Regions from separate parts of the Homo sapiens genome. Here region 1 is linked to region 2. The links are contacts of gene promoters, found by promoter capture Hi-C in blood cells and fetal thymus (Javierre and others, 2016). All regions are on one chromosome and are shown on one strand. Each heading gives the region's core, a stretch centred on a gene start or on the middle of the fragment in contact. The rest is flanking DNA. Distances are from core to core; before and after follow the strand shown.

Evidence for each region. Contacts are between HindIII fragments. The CHiCAGO score rates a contact against its expected background, and 5 or more counts as called.
Region 1: a fragment that was not itself captured here is called in contact with the fragment with the promoter of MROH9 in region 2 in 3 of 17 cell types (megakaryocytes, M0 macrophages and M2 macrophages); the score reaches 8.8 in megakaryocytes.

The regions. Positions count from the first base shown.
Region 1 is chr1:170,434,054-170,439,767 of GRCh38, reverse strand. No RefSeq gene overlaps it. Among named protein-coding and RNA genes, the nearest start is that of GORAB, 95 kb to the left of the region's middle. The HindIII fragment of the contact is 2,152 bases long and covers 1,650-3,801 here.
Region 2 is chr1:170,933,858-170,939,770 of GRCh38, reverse strand. It overlaps MROH9 (maestro heat like repeat family member 9), which reads right to left and starts at 4,237. Exons shown (of 22, transcript NM_001163629.2): 1 at 4,184-4,237. The HindIII fragment of the contact is 7,245 bases long and covers 4,148-5,913 here.

The sequences.
Region 1 (5,714 bases), core at 1,476-3,975, 500 kb after region 2:
ATGGATTGAATTTTCCTGCTTCTTTGCATTCCTGATAATTTTTGATTGGGTGCCAGACATTGTGAATTTTACTTTTCTGGGTACTGGATATTTTTTGAATTCTTCTAAGTAGATTTGAGCTTTCTTTTGGCATGCAGTTATGTTACTTAGAAACAGTTTATCTTCTTGCATACGACTTTTAAGATTTGTTACATGGGACCAGAGTATTATTTGATCTATTACTAATTATTCCACAGAGGTAAGACTATCCTGTGTACTCTTCTTAATTCATTGTGAATTTTCACATTTTCCTATGGTGATAAGGGCAGATACTCTTCCAGGTCCTGTGTAATTGCCACGTACTATTATCATTAAACTTTTCCAGTAGTTGTTTCCCTAGCTTGGTTGGTTTCTTTACATGCATGCACTGATCAGTACTCTAATGAATACTCAAGGGGGACACTTTGCTAGTCCTTGGACTTCTTCCTTTGTGCAGCTATGTACTTCCTGGTTCTCTGTCTTGTGAACTGTAGCTACGTTGGTCTCCCTGGACTCTTAGCTTTGTCTCTTCAACTCAGGGAGTCCCCTCAACTCTACCTGGATTTTCTCTTCATGTGCTATGGACTGGCAATCATCACAAGGCAGAAATCTGAGGTAATTGTAGGGCTCACCTTACTCATTTTCTGTATCTGTGGGACCCTTTTTCTCTGTTCCTTAATATCCAGTATCTTAAAAAATATTGTTTCATATATTTTGACTGGTTATATTGGTTTTTCCATAGAAAATGGTAAATATTGTCCTTATTATTCTGCCTAGGTAGGAAGTGCAAGTGTTGTTACACATTATATTTAAAAGCAATATAGCAGATGCTGAGAGGGTTTGAACAACTTATAATGACTCCAAATATTTGTACTACTCTAGCGTATACACCAGATTAGACATCATCCCTTAAACACAGGCTTACTAGAGCAATGAAGCAAATGATTCTTATTCACCAGCCTCACCCATGAAACAGATTGAATAGAGAAGGAAAATTTCTTAAAGAGGTGCTAAGAAGAATTAAAGAAACACCGCTCCCCACCAAAAAAGTTCAGGTCAATATTCCTTCATTTTTTGTAGTTTCTACAGAATTACAGAATGTTCATGACTTGATACCATGGAGTTGACCTGCATCTAAATTATTATAAAAGGAGTAACTTTCACTTTATCATTTCAAGGAACAGATAGCAAAAATTCTGCATGTTGTCTTTTTTACTTTCTATTGAGGCTTGTGGGTCCTTAATGTATTTGAAAGAGCTTATTTAAACCTCTCTGGTTGTCTCCTTGTGAGGGGTAAGTAGTCCTGACTGTATCCTAACCAGCTTAAGTGTTTACCACAGTAAGCAGGGGTTTTCAAAGCTACTTCACCATCCCAATCCATTTCCCAGTATAAGTGAGTTCTAGAGGGAAGCTCATACACTAGATGATGTCCTTGCTCTGGGATCCGTAGAGTGATTTGCGGTTCCTTACAGGAGAAGTTTCAGTGAAGAGTTCTGTCGCCCTTAGGCATACATTTTAGGGGTTGGACTTCCTATTTAAGGGCAATTAAATAAGGGGCCTTACTGTTTTAATTGGATTTTAGGTAAGCTATTCCTGTGGACAGTTTGTCAGTGTTTGCTATGGCCAAAGCTTTTCATTTACATTTGATATTCTTGTAATCTTGTGCTAGTCCCTCACCCCTAAAATAATTATCTTTTAAGTTCTCTGCCTTCCCAGATGGCAAAGTCATTAGCAAAGCTCTTGAGACTAGCTCGGTCATTTTGAGCAACAACAATTTTGAATCACGTACTTTAAATTGGGTCTATAGAGAGGACCTTGATTTTTTAGGCCTGGGGTGCTCTTTGATCACTTTTTCTGCTTCGGTTGGTTCATCATGTTTTCTTTCATTCATCTTCCACCAACTCAAGGATTTGTCTAGTGTTCAGTACAGAGGGGTAGGATTAAAAATGGCATAGTCCAGCAGAGTGGAACTGAATTAGAGGGGGCTGGGAGAACCTGATTAGTATGCTAAGTTGTGAAATGCTGTCTACTTACAAAGGTATAATTTGTATAACAAAATGGTCATTAATGTCCTTGCCACCTAAACAGTTTTGAGATGGCCTGTTAGAGAATAAGAGAATGTGTGAAGGATAAAGGAAAAGGGTTGTTGTCCCAAAGTGCACTGTAGGAGAGAATCACCTGATCCCATGAGGAGGTAGTGAAAAAAGGCAAGAAACTTTCTATTTGAGTGTGCCCTGGCGAGTTTTATCCATTACCTAATTATGTTTCCTCTACCCTAAAATATGAAGAATAATTTTTATTCCACTTCCAAAGTGTCTTCTCTCTCAAAATTATCCTCAGTCAAATAACTGCATTTGCTAAAACCAACTGGCATTTGTAGTACGCTGGCAAGAGAGTCACATATATTTATCTTTATTTTTAATGAAATTTTCATGATTTCTCTTTTAAATTCTATGTGAAAACATGCACGTTAGTTTCCTATTGCCATTGTAACAAATTACCACAAACACAATGAAGATTTATGATCGTTCTGGAAGCCAGAAGTTTGAAATAAATTTTAATTGGGTTAAAGTCAAGGTGCCAGCAGGATTGGTTCTTTCTGGAGACTCTAGGGGAGAATTCATTTCTTGGTCTCTTCCACCTTCTAGAGGCCATTTACATCCTTGGGTTCATGGCCATGTTCCTGTGTCTTCAAAGCCAGCTGCATAGTATCTTCAAATCCCTTTCTCCCTATCTTTCTTCATCTGTTATCATATCACCTTCGGTCTCCCTCATCTCCTGCCTCCCTCTTAAAAGAATCCCTATGATTACACTGGGCCCACTTGGATAATCCAGCATAACATCTTTATCTCAAGATATTTAATTTAATCACACCTGCAAAGTCTCTTTTGCCATATAAGATAATATTCACAGGCACCAGAGATTAGGATGAAGGCATCTTGGGGGGCCATGGTTCAGCTTACCACACACGGTATTTGGAGAAATGGGAAATATACTCAGGAGTGTGCTGGCTCAATATGTACCTTCAGGTAGCACTCTAGCCTTTTCCCACATGACCTCATTCTTTTACCTTATAGCAAATGCCTCACAGAATCAATTGTATTCCCTCTCTAAAAATAGAGCTCGGAGTACCATTTGTTGCTTGACATTGTTTACTGTTTACTTCATTTGCATGTAGTTTTGCTACTTATTAAAATGCTTACATTTTTTCTGAGATTCTCATTCATTTACTGACTTTTTTACAGTATTGAACATCTTTTATAATCCAAATACTACATTAGGCAATAGATATGCAAAAATATATAAAACATGGCCCTAACCTTTAGTAGGCTTATGGTCTAGAGGAAGAAGTAGTTTTAGGAAACTTCATTTTGCAAATGAGAAAACTGAGGCTCAGAGGGTAGTTAGGTGGCTTACCCAAGGTTTTTCATTCAGCAAATAGAAAACCTGGATCCAACTACAGATTTGATTTCAGAGAAATGACTCATTTAGTAAAGTAACTATTCGGAATATTGCTGCATAAAAGATAGGAAGCATCTCAGCTCCGAGTGACTTCTGATGAGAAATTTGAATGTTTGTCAAACACTTTGTGAATCTGATTCCGACTTCTCAGAATCCTATTTACTCTTACACACAATTCTAATAATTCATTTTCTCATTCAATGGCCCACTGGAAGCAGAAAGTAAGACTAGGTATGTGTTGAGGGTTGGGGAAGGAGGTAGGTGGAGAGAAGAGGGGCAGACAAAGGGAGAGCAGTGGCAGAATAGAGAAACCTGAAAGCTTAACAGTGAGTGAGAAAAAATGCTGCTGAAAACCAATAGAAGCAAGGATAGCATTTTCAGAGTTTTTATAGGTAATACCTCACCTACTGCCAAAAAATTAGAAACAACTCTATTAACTCGGTATTCTCCAGTGACATTTCTGGCTTAAAACATAGTAATCTGATACTCATTGATTCTACCGCTTTTTCATTCCCCCTAACCTTTTCTGTCTTTACTTCCCTCTTAAACCAGCTTTAGTTACATCATTAAATTTTAATAATTCCCTGGCAAACATCCTCAATACCCTTGTCTATCAACTACTTTCCTATATTTTCCCAGATTTAACTTAGAAAGTTGAACATAACTGTCTCGTCCCTGCCTGCCCCCCATACAACTGAATATGGCTGGAGAAAAACACATAGCCATATTGACTGGTCTCATTTCATATTTATATTCTTGTTCATTGACTTGTTTCCTATTTCACTGAGAAAACAGATGTAATCTGAATTGAAGCCCCAAAGTCTGGCAATTATATATTTATACACTATCTGCCACTGTACTATAAATCCAACCTGCTCTCATATTGGTTTGGTTATATTGGTTTCTCTGGCTTTACCTTCTTGGTCTTTGTGGATTTTTCCTCATTTTTCCAATCTTTAAATATTGGAGTGCCCTAAGGGCTTGGTCCTTGTATTTCTTCTCCTCTCTACCTCTTCTCAGACTTTAGATAATGTAGTACAACAAAGGTCTTTAAATTATATTTACATCCTAATGACTTATAAATTAATATCTCTAGTCTAGACTTTTCCCCTGAGCTCCAGATCAATATTCTCTAGCCCCTGCTTGTATTTTAACTTGGACACCTAATATACATCTCAAACTTAATATGTCTAGAATGAACTCTTGGTATCTGCCCTTTCCCTACCAAACCTACTCTTCCCACCATAGAAGTGAGCACTCATTGAAAAAAATTGGGTTCAAGTATGTCCTACATACTCTATGTGAGGTCCAGAAGAATATAATACATTTTAGAAAGATTTTTATGCAGAATGGTTAAAATCATTTTTTGAGAAGTTAAAGACCTATCTTTAACTTTTGGAAACATTCATAGACCTCAAACGTTGTTGGGACCATGGGAGTCATGAGCACAGAGACTGGCTGAACAGAGTAATGTAGAATCAGCAAGCTCTGAGATGGGAGCAGAGAGCTTTTAGTTCTGCTTCATGGCCTCAAGCAATGTCACTTGGCTTCCTTAAACCATAGTGTCCAAATCTGCAAAATTACACTTGACTTCTGAGATCCATTCTGTGTCCAGAGAAACCAATGTGTCTATGATGTACAAGATCTCCCTAGTCCAGTGGTTCTCACGTGTGGTCTCTGGACCACCAGCAGCAGCAGAATCACCTCGAAACAGATTAGAAATATAAATGTCTAGGCTCCAGCCAGGTATGCTGAATTAGGAACTCTGAAGGTTGGTCAGTCCCAGCAATCCATATATAATAAGTCCTCCCAGGCAATTCTGATGCATGCTAAAGTTTGAGAACTACTGCTGTGTTCTATCACAAGTATTTCACAGAGCAGGGATCTGGTTCCAAGGGCCTTAGTTACCTCTTGATGATCCTGTATAAATGAAATGGAATTGTTCAGTTTCAAGACATATGACAATTTCTATTCATGACTCTTAACCCTGAAATTTTACTAGAAAAGTTTTTTAAAGTATTGTTCAGACTTTTTTTAGGCTTTGAAAAATGGGTTCAATTTTGTAAGTACATGAAAGAGGGTTTGGACCTATAAGGATGATGTAAAAAGTTGCAAAATGAGACATGAGGAAAGATGAAAGAGGATGGGACTTTCTAACCTAGAAAAATAATCAAAGGAGATTTAAGAGCATATAGACTTTATATTTTGATGTGAAACATCCAAACTGTTTTTCA
Region 2 (5,913 bases), core at 2,988-5,487:
TGGCACCAAGTTACCATGTGATCTGAGCTGCTTATCATGAACTGGGTGTTATCCAACCCACCAAGCCATAAAGTTGGGTGTGCACGGCAGTACTCCATCATCAAATGGAAGTGATATATATGTGTGATCAGGCCTGAGCAGGTCTTGAAGGCACAAGTAAATTACATAAAGAAATGGCCAAAAGCCAGTGATCCTTCCTCCTACTACACTGCCTTCTCTTTATTAGCCTGCAACTATGGCTTCATGGGGAGTTCCCTATGATCAATTGACAGAGGAAGAAAACAGCCTGGTTTACAGTTGGTTCTACATGATATACAGGCACAACTTGAAAGTGGATGACTGTATCCCTATAGCCCCCTTTTGGGACATCTCTGAAGGACAATGGCCAAGAGAAATACTCCCAGTGGGCAAAACCCCAAGCAGTGCAATCCTCCCTGTAGGCAGAACTTCGAGCACTGAATCTGATTTTTTACTTTGATTGGAAGGAGAAATAGCCAGATGTGTGATTATATACTGATTCATGGGCTGTGCCCAGTGATTTTTCTAGATGGTCAGAAACTTGGAAGGAACATGATTGGAAAATTGATGAAGAAATTTGAGGAAGAGATAAGTGGATAGACATCTCAGAATTAGCAAAAAGTTTGAAGATATTTGTGTTCCCTGTAAATATTCACCAAAGGGCAATCTCTGCTGAGGATTATTTAATAATCAAGCAGATAGGATGACCCATTCTGTAGGTACCAATTAGGCTATTTCTTCAGCCACTAGTGTCATCACCCAATAGGCTCATGAGCAAAGTAGCCATAGTGTCAGGGATGTAAATTATGTATGGGTCCAGCAACATGGACTTTTATTTGTCAAGGACAACCTAGCTGTGGCCACTACCGAGTGGCCAATATGCCAGTAGCAGAGAAAAACACTGAGTCCTTGATGTGGCCCAGAGTGATCAGCCAGCTACCTGGTGGCAGCTTGACTACATTGGACTGCGTCCATCATAGAAGAGGAAGCATTTTGTCCTTACTGAAATAGACACTTACCCTGGATATGGATTTGCCGTCCAGGTATGCAATGCTTCTGCCAAAACTGCCATTTGTGGACTTATAGAATGCCTTATCCACCATCATGTTATTCCACACAGCATTGCTTCTGATCAAGGAACTCACTTCACAGCCAAAGAAGTGGGGCAATTGGCTTATGCTCATGGAATTCACTAGTCTTACCATGTTCCCCACCATCCTAAAGCCACTTGTTTGATGGAACGGTGGAATGACCTTTTGAAGACTCAGTTACGTCATCAGCTAGATGTCAATACCTGGAAGGGCTGGGGCAAGGTTCTCCGGAAAACTGAATATGCTCTGAATATGTTCAATTTATAGTGCTATTTCTCCTATAACCAGGATTCCTGGGTCTAGGGATCAAGGGGTGAAAATAGAGTTGCACCACTCACTATTATCCTTAGTGTCCCACTAGCTTCCTGTTCTTGTGGCATTATGCTCTGCTGGCTTAGAGATCTCAGTTCTGGAGGGAAGAATTCTTCCATCAGGGGACACGACAATAATTCCACTGAACTGGAAGTTAAGACTGCCACCTGGCCACCTTGGTCTCCTTGTGCTTCTGAGTCAACAGGCTAAGAAGGGAGTTATGGTGCTGGTTGGACTGACTGATCCACACTACCAAAGAGAACTTGGGCTACTATTCCATAATGGAGGCAAGGAAGAGTATGTCTGCAATACAAAAGATCCCTTAGTGTGTCTCTTAGTATTACTGTGTCCTGTGATTAAGATCAATGGAAAACTACAACCACCCAGTGCAGGTAGGACTACTAGTGACCCAGACCTTTATGGATCACTTTAGCAGGTAAAGAACCACAAGCAGCTGAGGTGCTTACTGAAGGCAAAGAAACTACAGAATGTGTAGTAGAAAAAGGGAGTTAAAAATACTGATTATGGGCCGGGCGCGGTGGCTCACGCCTGTAATCCCAGCACTTTGGGAGGCCGAGGCGGGCGGATCACGAGGTCAGGAGATCGAGACCATCCCGGCTAAAACGGTGAAACCCCGTCTCTACTAAAAATACAAAAAAAATTAGCCGGGCGTAGTGGCGGGCGCCTGTAGTCCCAGCTACTTGGGAGGCTGAGGCAGGAGAATGGCGTGAACCCGGGAGGCGGAGCTTGCAGTGAGCCGAGATCCCGCCACTGCACTCCAGCCTGGGCGACAGAGCGAGACTCCGTCTCAAAAAAAAAAAAAAAAAAAAAAAATACTGATTATGATGCTGTGATCAGTGCAGAAATGAAGACTGTAATAATTATGAGTATTTCCTTTTAATTTTGTTCTGAATACATTTCTTTGTGTATATATTAGATACCAAATATTTTTTCTTTTCTTATTCTCTTATCACATAATACAAAATGCAATGACTTCATATTCTAGTATTTAAGTATTGTTAATGTTACATCATAGTGTTTAAGTTACAGGACATCAAGGAAGAGAGTAAACATCACTGAAGGACTTTATCTCCTCCTCTGAGAAGGGTTTAGTGCATTTTCAGTTGTATGCAGGACATATGTTGGAACAGGAATTAAAAGAAATTAAAGAATGTGTAAGCAGAAACTCAGTTGTATGTAAGAAAACCCAATTCCCCAGAGAAAGAGAAAGAGCTGGAGTCCTTTAAAATTAACTGCCTGTTTTTCTGTGGCTAGTGAGCCTTATCTCTCCTCCTTTCCCAGGCATTGTGAAGACCCTGTTTCTCTAGCTGTGCAGCTGCAAGGTCACTAGACAGATAAACTCAAGTCATAAAACATGTTTTTCCTTGAAAAGTAAGAAATGATGTAATGCATGTTTCAATTAATTGAATAACTGTCTTTGTTTCTCACTTCTGTAATATGCTTCCCCCTACACAGATCTCCCCCACCCCACGAAATGATTAAAAGATAACTCTTTGTTCAGGGCTCAGTCCTTTGGAGGTTAATCCAACTGGGCCGGTGCACCTAAATAATAAATATCCTTCTCAACCCCATCGGTCTCTCTGATTCCTTATCAATCCCACTACATTTCAACATGTTAAATGGAATTATGAGCTTCTTATTGACTTTATTTGGAGATTAACTATGGCTTAAGGATATGTATATGGGTGCCAAATTTTCAACGTGGGAACTCATTATGGTTAGTTAATATTACGTGTCAAACTGAGTGAGCCATAGGATGCCCAGATATCTGGTAAACATTATTTTGGGGTATGTCTGTGAGGGTATTTCCAGAAGAGATTAGCATTTAAATTGGTGTTCTGATGATAGGAGATGACACTCCCTAATGTGGGTCAACATCTTCCAATCCATTGAGGGCCTGAATAAAACAAGAAGGCAGAAGAATGCTTAGTTTTCTCTTTGCCTGACTACTTGACTTGGGACACAAATCTGCTGCCCTCGGTGCTCTGGTTCTCAGATCCTCAGAACCAGGCTGGAATTTTTATCATCAACTCTCTTGCTCTCAGGCCTTCAAACTGCACCATTGGATCTCCTGGGTCTCTGTCTTGCAGAAAGCAGAATCCAGGACTTCCTAGCTTCTATTATTGTGTAAACCAATACCTTATAATAAATATATTTATCTATATAGTTGTGGTTTCTCTCATCCTTACTAATAAGATAATCCTTACTAGTAAGGCATGAAGTTAGGAGATTAATGAATAAAGACAAATTCTTCCAATTGCCAACTTTGGCAAGATTTCTGGATGAGGGCCCATAGTAATGTAATTTTCTTTTTCTTTTCTTTTTTTTTTTTTTTTTTTTTTTTTTGTCTCACTCTGTTGCCAGGCTGGAGTGCAGTAGCATGATCTCGGCTCACTGCAACCTCCACCTCCCGAGTTCAAGTGATTCTCCTGCCTCAGCCTCCTGAGTAGCTGGGATTACAGGCACCCGCCACCACACCCAGCTAATTTTTGTATTTTTAGTAGAGATGGGGTTTCACCAAGTTGCCTAGGGTGGTCTCGACCTCCTGACCTCATGATCCGCCCACAGCCTCCCAAAGTGCTGGGATTACAGGTGTGAGCCACCATACCTGGGCCATAACGTAATTTTCTAATGTATTCATGGTTCTTTTTCTTAACAGAACAAAAATTAAGAAAAGTAGTCAGGATTAGAAAAAAAGACAAGCTTTTGAATGACAGAAATATTAATAGGAATTCACTTACATATTTGTAACTTCTCTGTAATCACGGTGAGACAAAGTAGTGAAGAGAAACTCTAGTATATTACCTCTTAGCCAAAGGTAAAATACTCTAGGTAGTTATCAACCAAGCAAATTCTTTGAAATGTTGACACTCGTCATGGCAACCATATGTTTCAAAGATTCCATTCTGGAATGAATGTGGTAGAATGTCCTGGCATGCCCAAGTGGCTACTAATGCTCACCTGTCATTATTGAGGGGTGGGTAAGTTTCTGGTTTCTATGTTACAAGCACTGAAAGATAGTTCTTCAGACCAACAGTCCAGTAGAAGCTGGGCAAAGGATAAGAATAGAAAATTCACAGAAAAGGAAAACTGAATGGCCAATAAATATTTTAAAAGATTTTTAATCTCACTTGAAGTTATGAAAATACAAACCATTAAAATATTATTTCCCAGCTAATAAGTTAAAAAGTACTAAAATACAAGTAAAAATTAAAAAAAGATAATTTCAAATATTGGCAAAGATAAAAGAAAGTTGAACTTTCTCACACGACTGGTGGGATTATAAATGGATATAACTAGTTTGTAGAGAAACTTGTCAAGTTCTAGCAAAACTGAAAATCTACAACCCAGAATTTCCAGTTCTAGGTCCATAGAGTGTATAAACATGTATACAACTGATGCACTGAGAGACATGAAGGATGTTTATTGTAGCACTTTTTATAATAGAGTTATTAAAATATAATTCACATACCATAAAATTTATCTTAAAGTATATAATTCAATCATTTTAAATATATTTACAGAGGTATACAACCATCATTACTATCTAATTTTAGAACATTTTCATTTAGAACAAGCTCCAAAGAAACCCTGTACCTGTTAGCAGACATTCACCCTCCCTCTCCCCCAAGTACCTGGCAACCACTAATCTTCTGTCTGCCTTCTGGACATTTTATGTAAATAGATTTATACAATATGTGACTTTTTATGATTAGACTGTTTGGATTTTTATTACTGAGTTGTGATTTTTTAATATGTTCTAGATGCTAGTCTCTTATCAGATACATAATTTGCAAATATTCCTCCTTTTCTATGGGCTGCCTTTACATTTTCTTGACAGTGTCTCTTGAAGCACAAAAGTTTTAAATTTAAGTGAAATTTAAATTTGCCATTCTTTTTCTTTTATTGCTTGTGTTTTTGGTATCATAACTAAAAAAAAAGAAAAAGACATTGCCTGCATTCCCTGGCCCAACTTCACAGAGATTAGATTTAGAACTTTTCTAAGAGTTTTGTAGTTTTTGCCTTACATTTAGGTCTTTGGTTCATTCTGAATTAGTTTTAGTATATAGTGTGAGGTAGAGGTCTAATTTTATCTTATTTTTTGCATCTGGATATTCACTTGTCTCAGTACAATTTGTTAAAAAGATGATTCTTTTCCTGATTGTCTCCACATCTTTGTAAAAAATGAATTGACTAAAATGGTTTATTTCTGAACTCAATTTTATCCCATTAATCTATATGTTTTTCCTATACTGGTAGCACACTGTGGTGATTTCTGTGTCTTTGTAGTAAGTTTTGAAATCAAGAAGTGTGAATTTTCAAACTTTGTTTGTTCTAGGGTCACAATTATAACATTAGCCTAAAACAATGTAGTTTGAATTAATATCAATTTAGTTTCAATAACATACAAAGGTTTTGCTCCAGTATACCTGGTTTCCTCCTTCATTTTTTCTGCTATTATTGCCATGCA